Regions from separate parts of the Homo sapiens genome. Here region 1 is linked to region 2. The links are contacts of gene promoters, found by promoter capture Hi-C in blood cells and fetal thymus (Javierre and others, 2016). All regions are on one chromosome and are shown on one strand. The core of a region is centred on a gene start or on the middle of the fragment in contact, and the rest is flanking DNA. Distances in the headings are between cores, read along the strand shown. Region 1 overlaps CDC23 (cell division cycle 23). Region 2 holds the start of HSPA9 (heat shock protein family A (Hsp70) member 9).

Region 1 (5,902 bases), core at 2,208-4,707, 370 kb before region 2:
CACCACTGCACTCCAGCCTGGGTGACAGAGAAAGACTCCATTTCAAAAAAAAAAAAAAAAAGTACATAAGTATTCTTTGTACTATTCTTATTCTCGCAACTTGTCAATTTGGAATCATTTTCAAATAAAAGGTTAAAAAGCAAAGTAAACATTCAGACTCTCTTTTTTCTTTTTTTGGAGACGGAGTCTCACTCTGCCGCCCAGGCTGGAGTATAGTGGTATGATCTCGGCTCACTGCAAGCTCCACCTTCCGGGTTCACGCCATTCTCCTGCCTCAGCCTCCCGAGTAGCTGGGACTACAGGCGCTCGCCACTGCGCCCAGCTAATTTTTTGTATTTTTAGTAGAGACGGGGTTTCACCGTGGTCTTGATCTCCTGACCTCGTGATCCGCCCGCCTCTGCCTCCCAAAGTGCTGGGATTACAGGCGTGAGCTACCGCGCCCGGACTTTTTCTTTCTTTCTTTTTTTTTTTGGTGACAGGGTCTTGCTCTGTTGCCCAGGCTGGAGTATAGTGGTACAATCTTGGCTCACTGTAACCTCCACCACCTGGGCTCAAGCGATCCTCCTATCTCAGCCTCCCAAGTAGCTGGGGCCACAGGCACACACCACCACACCTGGCTAATTATTGTATTTTTTGTAGAGACGGGGTTTCACCATGCCGCCCGGGCTTCCTTTTATATTTTATATATTTGCCTTAAGGAACTTTATTTTATCCCAAACTTCAGCAAATGCTGGTTCTATTCTACCATAACTCATCCAAATTAGTGCTTCTACACAGGTATAGATTGTATGTGAAAGATTAACTTTTTAAATCCCATAATTTCAAAATATCTTTCTTAAACTCATGGAGATAAGCAAACTGTGGTATATAAATACAATGGAATATTATTAAACTTTAAAAAAGGAAATTCTTATATATGCTACAACATGGATGAAACTTGACAGCATTATGGTAAGTGAAATAAGCCAGTCACAAAGAGACTAATACTGCATGATTCCACTTATGTAAGGTACTTAGAGTAGTCCAGATCATAGAAACAGAAAATAGAATAGTGGTTGCCAAGGGGTCCACCTTGGGGAAAGGGAAAAATGGAGAGTTATTGTTTAATGGGTATAGAATTTTAGTTTTACAAGATAAAAAATGTTCTAGAGATGGGTGGTGGTGATGGTTGCACATTATGAATGCATTTAATACCACTGAACTGTACACTTTAAAAATGTTAAAATGGTAAATTGGAAAAAAAAAAAAAAAACAAAGATGACTTAAACATAGTCCATAACTGCAAGAATTTACCACGCTTGACAAATACAAGCTATGCTAATAGTTGATCAACCTAAATCATAAGATCTGAAATCTGCATTGCTCCAAAACCCAAAACTTTTTCAGCACCAATGACACTCAAAGCACCAATGACACTCACTGCAGCATTTTTTATTTCAACCAGTAAGTATAATGCAAATATACCAAAATCTGAAAAAAATCTGAAATCTGAAACACTTTTGGTCCCAAGCACTTCAAATAAGGGATACTCAACCTGTACTAGGAAATGAGAAGTACATAAAATGTTTTTTTAATCAATTTATATAGATAACAACTAAGAAAAAGTAGGAAAGTAAATTCATAATGTTTCAAAGTAAAATAATAAATTGTACTTATTATTCAATACAGTATTAAGTTGGTTTACTTGCATTGTCCTTTACAGTCATACTTTTTAATAGCCATGAAAGAAAAACAATAAATATACTATAAACATGATAAATGAATTTATAAATTTAAAAGTCAGCCCAGGCTTTTTAACTTAATTCTTACACAATAATATTAATTCACAGGCATGAAGAACCTTATATAACCTAAAGTAAATAAATAATCAGGTTGTTACTTATCCTGTTAGTCATTCCTAAGAATATTTTCTTCTCTACCATCCTTTTTAACTTTATTTATGATATCTTTTTTTTATTATTGCTATGTATAAAGTACATTCATTCAGTGGCCCACTGCTAAGCTATTTAAAAGATTTAACTTTTCCATTGGTTCTAAATATGGATGTTTCACTAAAGGCAGAATGACATTTTAAAATGGCCCTCACCAGATATCTGGAATACATATACAGAAAATAGGCTTTCTTGCTATTGCAGCCATGCAGGAAATGTGCTGCCCGATCATACTCTTTAACGTCAAAGTAGGCCTTGGCCAGGGTATAGGCATCCATATCCTGGGCATCTTCCTAAAAAAGAAACAAGCTTATGTAAGTGGTTGGGAATAGGACAACAAAACTTCAAATCTAAAAAGTATATTCGTTAATTTCAAGATGTAAAAGAAAAAGGATTGTTTTCTTCCTCCTAAAAACCTAGAATATGTAGATGCATATATATATAATTTTATATATTTATTTTATTACCAAGTAAGCCCATAGAACTCTTTTTTTTTTTTTTTTTTTGAGACAGAGCCTCACTCTGTCACCCAGGCTGGAGTGCAGTGGCGCAATCTCAGCTCACTGCAACCTCTGCCTCCCAGGTTCAAGCGATTATTGTGCCTCAGCTGCCAGAGTAGCTGGGATTACAGGTGTGCGCCACCACTTCCAGCTAATTTTTGTATTTTTAGTAGTGATGGGGTTTCGCCATGTTGGCCAGGCTGGTCTCAAACTCAGGGCCTCAAGTGATCTGCCTGCCTCGGCTTCCCAAAGTGCTGGAATTACAGGTATGAGCGACCGCACCCGGCCAAGTTTTTCTTTCTAATTTTTTCAAAATAAAAAAATGGAGAAAAAAGAAAACTTTAAAAAACTAAACGAACACTCATAAATGTGTATTGTTTCTATAAATGTAGTAGAAAGTTGAATAGGCTTTAGTGTTAAGGACCTAGATTCAAATTCTGACTTTTTGATTTCCTGGTTTCAGGACATTGGTAGGGAGGTTACTTAGCTTCTCTTAGCATCCATTTCTTCATCTGTAAAATGAAGCCAATAATACTGACCTTACAGATTTGACTTGAGGAAAATGTGAGTCACATAAAATATCCAGCATTAATACTGGCATTCTATTCCTTCTCCTGTCTTTTACAGTCCTACATAAATGCAATGTACGTGCAATTACTTATATTTTTTGTACTTCAATAAAGTTTTGTCATAATTTAGTATTGCTGAAGGCACAGAACACAGCTGTAATTCTCTATGTTAAAAAAAAATTAGATAATGTCACATTTAAGTTAAAAACATACAATCCTTGGCTGAGCGCAGTGGCTGTAATCCCAGCACTGTGGGAGACCAGGGCAAGAGGATGGCTTGAACTCAGGAGTTCAGGACCGGCCTGGGCAACGTGGCAAGACCCTGCCTCTACTAAAAATACAAAAAAATAGTTGGGCATGGTACTATGTGCCGGGGGTCCCAGCTACTCGGGAGGCTGAGCCTTGCTGCAGTGAGCCAAGATCGCGCCACATCACTTCAATCTGGTGACGTAGCAAGACTCTGTCTCAAAAAAAAAACAAAAAACAAAAATTCAATCCCCCAAATTCTTTTTTTTTTTTGAGACAGAGCCTCGCTCTGTCGCCTAGGATGGAATGCAGTGGTGTGATATTGGCTGACTGTAACCTCCACCTTCTAGGTTCAAGCAATTCTCCTGCCTCGGCCTCCCTAGCAGCTGGGATTACAGGTGCCCGCCACCATGCCTGGCTAATTTTTGTATTTTAGTAGAGACGGAGTTTCACCAGGCTGGTCTTGAACTCCTGACCTCAAGCGATCCACCCGCCTTGAACTCACAGCAGAGTGCTGGGATTACAGGCACGAGCCACCACCGGCCCAATCCTCCAAATTCTAAGGATGAGTTAATTAAAATTTGAATAACTGTATTTTCCTCATCTTTCTTGCCCCAAATATCACCAGAACAAAACTGGAACCAAAACATATTCAGTGCTTTCTTCATTAGATCAACATGTCCTAAATACGACCATTTGATTTAGGATTCTGGAGGCCCTTCTCATATCAACTCACCACTTGTTTATTTCTTTCCCCCTAACTCTTTCACCTGCATTATGCCTTTTTGAGTAAGAAATACTTGTTATTGCTGAATGGGACAAAAAAATCAAGAAAGGCATCATCAGGAAAACAAAATGGATTATAATGAAAAGCATTCAGATTATACAAGACTATGTATACATGCATACTATAGGCCCAGCATAAAATATATTCGTAACAGTCGATATATCCTTATAATTCAGAAAGTTTTACTATTTGGATTATATAATCTTAAATTTTTCTGTTTCATTCTTGCTTATGGGAAGAATCTGGAATGTTCTACTGAAAATTACATGTAATTTAGAGGCATTTAGCATTTGGCTGAGTTTTGTTTCGTTTTGAGACAGGATCTCACTCTGTCTCCTGGGCTGCAGTGTAGTGGCGCAATCTCAAATCACTCCAACCTCAGCCTCCTGGGCTCAAGTGATCCTCCTCCCACCTCAGCCTCTGAAGTCACTGGGTCCACAGGTGCGTGCCACCGCACCACCATGTATTTCTAGTACAGATATAGTTTCACTATGTTGCTTAGGCTGGTCTGGAACTCCCGGCCTCAAGCAGTCCTCCCAAAGTGCTGGGATTACAGGCATGGGCCACCATGCTCAGCCAGGTTGAGTTTTTAAACCAAGAAGCCACAATTGGTCCTAGTCACATCTTATATTCAGAAAAGCTAAGCTTCAGGGCCAGGTGTGGTGGCTCATGCCTGTAATCCCAGCACTTTGGGAGGCTAAGACAGGTGGATCACCTGAGGTCAAGAGTTCAAGACCAGCCTAGCCAACATGGTGAAACCCCATCTCTACTAAAAATACAAAAAATTAGCCAGGTGTGGTGGTGAGCACCTGTAATCCCAGCTACTTGGGAGGCTGAGGAAGGAGAATCACTTGAACCTGGGAGGTGGAGGTTGCAGTAAGTGGAGATCATGCCATTGCACTCCAGCCTGGGCAACAGAGTGAGACTCAAAAAAAAAAAAAGAAAAGAAAAGAAAAGAAAAGCTTTAAGTCCAAGACAAAGGATAACGAGTTTAAGGCCTTATATGACATGCTTCTTTGGTAATGTTTATAAAACACTGAGAGTAAGCAAGCCGGGTGTGGTGGCTCACACCTGTAATCCTAGCACTTTGGGAGGCTGAGGTGGGTGGATCACCTAAGGTCAGCAGTTTGAGGCCAGCCTGGCCAACATGGTGAAACCTCGTCTCTGTTAAAAATACAAAAATTAGCCAGGCGTGGTGGCACATTCGGTAATCCCGGCTATTCGGGAGGCTGAGGCAGGAGAATCACTGAAACCCAGGAGCCAGAGGTTGCAGTGAGCCGATATTGGGCCATTGCACCCTAGCCTGGGTAATACAGCAAAACTCCGTCTCAAAAAAAAAAAAAAATTGAGAGTAAGCTATAACAAACATCTACTACGTAGATTGAGCAAGCATAATACTCTTGCATTTTAATAACTTTAAATATCACAGTTATGGCTGAGAGCAGTGAATCATGCATGTAATCCCAGCACAGCACTTTGGGAGGCTGAGAGGGGTGGATCACTTGAGGTCAGGAGTTCGAGACCAGCCTGGCCAACATGGTGAAACCTCCTCTCTACTAAAAATACAAAAAAATTAGCCAGGTGTTGTGGCATGCACCTGTAATCCCAGCTACTCAGGAGGCTGGGACAGGAGAATTGCTTGAACCTGGGAGGTGGAGGTTGCGGTGAGCCGAGATTGAGCCACTGCACTCCAGCCTGGGTAACAGTGCAAGACTCCGTCTCAAAAAAAAAAAAAAAAATTCACAGTTTTGGCCAGGCACGGTGGCTCACACCTGTAACCCCAGCACCCTGGGATGCCTCGGTGGGTGGATCAGCTGAGTTCAGGAATTCAAACCAGCCTGGCCAACACGGTGAAACCCCATCTCTACT
Region 2 (5,395 bases), core at 29-2,528:
TATCCTAAAAAAGAAAAAACTGACTCAGTCACCAACCAGTGTGTATCCTGGGAGGAAAAAGAGAAAACTTGGGCTCACTTAGTATATAAAATACATTAAGCTACTAAAACAGTAAATATTAAAGTTTCCCAAATAAGTAAGACGAAAAAAGGTAAATAAAAGATGGCCTTAGAATCACATTACAGTAGGATTTCTCAACCGTGGCGCTATTAATTTTGGGCGAAATTTTTGTGGTGGGGGCTGTTCTGTGCATTGTAGGATATACAGCAGCATCCCTGGCCTCGACACCCTAGAAACCAATAAGCACCCCAGTAAGTAAGTGACAACCTAAAATATCCACAGACATTGCCAGATGTCCCCTGGGGGAAAACACTTCCCCTTACCTTGCCGTGCAATTAGTTTAAAAGAACTAGAGTTACTAAGGGTCTTTGAAAGAAAAAAGAAAAGTAGTGGCGTTTCACTAGGATAAAAGACCTTTATTACAACTTAACCTCAGGCTCCTTCCAAGCCTTCCTTAATGCCCACATACAATTCCTGTTCTCTAAAGCATTTGTCTTTTATTTTAGAAAACAAGTAACCACTCCATAGCCTTTTCTCCGCCCCACGATCTGCTTTTTTTTCTGAAGTAACAAACGAGTACAATCTTACACCACAGATTTTGAGAAAATGTTGCTAAGCACGAAAACTGGAGTTCCGACTCAGAGCTTTCTTATTTTATTTCACCGTATCAACGGGATCCTTACACACTCTGTATTCTGTAGAGGAGCCAAAAATAAAACTGAAAATAGTGGCTTTCCCAATAGACTGCATCCCTCACCCCCAAGGCCAAACCTTTCCATTCAGCCACAGAACAGGCCATGAGGACCACTACCTGGTAATTTTGAAATGACACTCTAGATCGCGAGGGGTGTGACTCAGCAGGGCCCAAGCCGGAGGCAAAACCTTGGGCAAAATCTTGACCCGGCAGCGCTAACTATGGAAGGCCCGTTACCTTCCTTCCCGCCTGACCTATACTGGAGAATTCAAACCCTAAAGGGCGCGCGGCCTGCCGCAGCGAAGCCCGAGGCCCAAGGCCCGAGGCCGTGACCCCATTCGGGAAGGTCCCAGTTCCTCACCTGGTGGCGGGCGGCCGTAGGGCCCCGGGAGGCTGCGGCGCCCACGAGACGGGCTGCTGCAGCTCGGCTGGCACTTATCATGGCGGATAAATGGAGGAGTACGAGGCAGCAAACAAGCGCTCCGACGGCAAAGAGCTGCGCGATGCGGTGGCGGCAGCGCTTCTGGAAACCTCCAACCACGTGGGGTGAGGGGCGGGGGTTGGTCACTGCGGCCCAGAGGCCCGCTCTTCCGCTGAGGCGCCGCCCGCGCCGCCTGACCAGAGGATACTCGACTGCCGCTCCCGGAGCCAGGGCGTACAGGTAATATGCTCCGCAGCATGATGGTTGGAGAAAGCCTGCCCTCCTGTCCCGGCTGCGGCGGCTCTGAGCTCAGAAAGAGTCCAGGGGAGGAAGAGGGATATGAAGGCCGTATCTCGGACAGCCCCGGTCCTCGGCGACAGGAAAGACTCAAGGTCACACGGGATAAATTGCGAACCGATTACAGTCTTCTTGCGTCAGTTGCGCGGGAGGAGGAGCCTGTTGGCGCAACAGACATCCAGCTAAGAACCTAGAGCGCATGTGCGCAAGGAGTGGCGGAAAACATGGGTGGAGACTAACTGCGGCGCTCACTGGGTGCCCGAGTGCACGCCAGCGTTCCCTGGGGCGAGCCCGGGCGCGTGCACACCCCCCGGGCGTGGACGTGTTCCCAGCTCCCGCTCCTGGAGGACGGCGCCATCTTGTCTTGTGGCTTTGTGAAGTGAGGACGTCAGTACTTTTGTTGTTTGGTCCCGCCCGTTGTTCACAACTTGAAAGACACTTGGATATGCAGACAGACGTTAAACAATTTCGTGTTGCGTTTTATCACAGGGGTCTTGGGTTTCCAACTACGAAGCGTTTGATTCACACAGAACATTAGGCCAATTAGCCTGCACAAAGGGAAAAAAAAATAGCTGAGCTTGGCCGGGCGCTCACGCCTGTAATCCCAGCACTTTTGGGAGGCCGAAGCGAGCGGATCGCGAGGTTAGGAGATCGAGACCATCCTGGCTAACACGGTGAAACCCCGTCTCTACTGAAAATACGAAAAAGTAGCCGGGCGTGGTGGCAGGCGCTTGTAGTCCCAGCTACTCGGGAGGCTGAGGCAGGAGAACGGCGTGAACCCGGGAGGCGGAGCTTGCAGTGGGCCGAGATCGCGCCACTGCACTCCAGCCTGGGCGACAGAGCGAGACTCCGTCTCAAGAAAAAAAAGAAAAATAGCTGAGCTTCAGGCTCTTCCTCTCCCCACTGTGCTGGGCCTGACTTGAGACTCCTCTGGCCCTTTTTAAACCTTGTGCTGGTGGCAGGATGTCAACTACTTCACTACCCTGTGACCAGTTTTTAGGTTTTTGTTTTTTTTTTTGAGGCAGTCTTTGTCGCCAGGCTTGAGTGCAGTGGCGCCATCTCGGCTCACTGCAACCTCTGACTCCCTGGTTCAAGCTATTCTCCTGCCTCAGCCTCCCAAGTAGATGGGATTACAGGCGCGCGCCACCACGCCCAGCTAATTTTTATATTTTTGGTAGACACCGGGTTTCACCATGTTGGCCAGGATGGTCTCGATCTCCTGACCTCGTGATCTGCCTGCCTCGGCCTCCCAAAGTGCTGGGATTACAGGCGTGAGCCACCGCGCCCAACCCAGTTTTAGATTTTTAAGAAGAGGAATTAATTGATTCAACAGATATGTTTTGGCATGCCTACCGTGTGTCAGTCACTCTCCCAGGTGGTAGGAATACAGCGAAAGCAAAACACGAACGAATGGCTGATGACAGATTGAACTTGATTTTGGAGATGAAGCAATTTGTCCTGGAAGCCCGCTTTCAAAAAAAGAGAAATGTTTCAGACCCCCTATCTCTTCAGGAAGATCTGTATTATTAAGTAGTCACCCCTGGGTGAGGAACTGTGAAGGAAATGTTGGGGAAAGTTGGGGAGGGAAAGAAGCTAACTGAAGAGTTTACATTCTGAGGAGGATGGCAGTGGGAGTAAGAAAATAAACAAAAGTCTAACGTAACATGGGTTATAGATTATATAGATTCTAAAAGTTTTTAAAAAGCCTCCCACACACTCTTAACTGTCAGCTATTACTATATTATCCTCACTAGTTACTTAACACTTCATTTCTCTTGTTTTTAGTTCTCTCAGAAGGCAGGGGTGGCCAGGCGGTGGCTCACGCCTGTAATCCCAGCACTTTGGGAGGCCGAGGTGGGAGGATCACTTGAACCCAGGAGTTCGAGATCAGCCTGAGCGACAGAGTGAGACTCCATCTTTAGCCTCTGTCGCCCAGGCTGCAGTGTAGTGGTGCAGTCTCAGCTTACTGCAGCCTCCACCTCTCTGGGCTCAGATGATTCCAGTGCCGCCTCAGCGCCCCCCTCCCCCGAGTAGCTGGGATTACAGACATGCGGCACTACGCCTGGCTAATTTTTGTATTTTTCGTAGAGACGGGGTTTCGCCTTGTTGCCCAGGCTGGTCTCCAACTCCTGAACTCAAGGGATCCGCCCGCCTCGGCATCCCAAATGCTGGAATTACAGGCGTGAGCCACTGCGGCCGGCCAATTTTTTTTTTTTTTTTTTTTAAATTGGCTGGGCATGGTAGCAAGCACCTGTAGTCCCACCTACTTGGGAGGCTGGAGTGGGAGGATCACTTGAGTTCAGGAATTTGAGAACAGCCTGGGCAACATGGCAAAACCCCATTTCTACAAAAAATTAGCCGGGCATGGTGGTGCACCTGTAGTCCCAGCTACCAGCTACTCGGGAGGCTGAGGTGGAAGAATCACCTGAGCCAAGAGAGGTCGAGGCTGCAGTGAGTCGTGATTATGATTGTGCCATTTCACTCCAGTCTGGGTGACACAGCGAGACATTAAAAAAAACAAAAAACAAAAAAACAGAAAGAAAGGAGAAAGGAAGGAAGGAGGGAGGGAAGGAGGGAAAGAAGGAAGGAGAAAAGGAAATAAGGAAAGGAAGGAAAGAGAAAGAGAGAAAAGAAAGATGCGGCCGGGCGTGGTGGCTCACGCCTGTAATCCCAGCACTTTGGGATGCTGAGGCGGGTGGATCACCTGATGTCAGGAGTCCGAGACCAGCCTGGCTAACATGGTGAAATCCTCGTCTCTACTAAAAATACGAAAATTAACCAGGCGTGGTAGTGGGCACCTGTAACCCCAGCTACTCGGGAGGCTGAGGCAGGAGAATTGCCTGAACCCAGGAGGCGGAGGTTGCAGTGAGTGGAGATTGCACCACTGCACTCCAGGTGACAGAGCCAGACTCCGCCCCCCCCCCCCCCCAAAAAAAAAAGAGAGAGAAAGGAAGAAAAATGAGAAGGCAGGCTTTCTTAAAGGCTATCCAAACAGGCTCATGATTCCTGTTTGTAGAGATTTAGATTCTAAAACAATATACCGATGCAAAGAAGACAGAGGAGTGACAAATAATATTGAACATTGAAATGCAATAAAAAACATTATGTTCTTACGTTGTACATGACGGGGCGGAGAAGGGCAGGTGGAAATAATTGGAGAAACTGCATACTTCTCACTTCTCTGTTGTATTAACTGGTTCTCCTAAGAGTTTTTCTTTTCTTCTTCTTTTTTTTTTTTTTTTTTTGTATTTTTAGTACAGATGGGGTTTCACCATATTGGCCAGGCTGGTCTCGAACTCCTGACCTCAAGAGATCCGCCTTCCTCGGCCTCCCAAAATACTGGGATTATGGGCGTGAGCCACCGCGCCGGCCGAGAGTTCGCTTTCCTTTTTCTTGCTCTATACGTTAAAAAGCCACGAAGTGTTAATCAAAAGAATCCTGGAATTAGGCCGGGCGCGGTGGCTTACGCCTGTAATCTCAGCACTTTGGGAGGCCGAGGCGGGTGGATCACGAGGTCAGGAGATCGAGACCACGGTGAAACCCCGTCTCTACTAAAAATACAAAAAATTAGCCTTGCGCGGTGGCGGGCACATGTAGTCCCAGCTACTCGGGAGGCTGAGGCAGGAGAATGGCGTGAACCCGGGAGGCGGAGCTTGCAGTGAGCCGAAATCCAGCCACTGCACTCCAGCCTGGGCGACAGAGCAAGACTCCGTCTAAAAAAAAAAAAAAAAAAGAATCCTGGAATCAAATGTTGTTATCTAAGGGTGTAGGAAACTACGATCCTATGGGTACATCCAGTGTGTTTGCTGTTTCTGGTGGTTTCTCAGGCGCCTTGCAAATACTCTCCACGACCACAAGGGGGATGTGGTAGCGCTAGATATTCAAAGCACAAGCTTTATCATATCTTCAGCGTGAAGGACAGG

What was found. Contacts are between HindIII fragments. The CHiCAGO score rates a contact against its expected background, and 5 or more counts as called.
Region 1: a fragment that was not itself captured here is called in contact with the fragment with the promoter of HSPA9 in region 2 in 1 of 17 cell types (neutrophils); the score reaches 5.5 in neutrophils.

What each region holds. Positions count from the first base shown.
Region 1 is chr5:138,204,461-138,210,362 of GRCh38, forward strand. It overlaps CDC23 (cell division cycle 23), which reads right to left. Exons shown (of 16, transcript NM_004661.4): 3 at 2,087-2,224. Among named protein-coding and RNA genes, the nearest start is that of CDC23, 5.9 kb to the right of the region's middle. The HindIII fragment of the contact is 2,438 bases long and covers 2,239-4,676 here.
Region 2 is chr5:138,574,123-138,579,517 of GRCh38, forward strand. It overlaps HSPA9 (heat shock protein family A (Hsp70) member 9), which reads right to left and starts at 1,279. Exons shown (of 17, transcript NM_004134.7): 1 at 1,116-1,279; 2 at 1-4. The coding sequence starts at 1,196. The region is part of intron 1 of LOC105379193 (a long non-coding RNA gene); the gene reads left to right. RefSeq lists enhancers at 860-1,507, 1,024-1,073, 1,314-1,593, 1,508-2,156, 1,734-1,873 and 1 more. The HindIII fragment of the contact is 10,827 bases long and covers 1-5,363 here.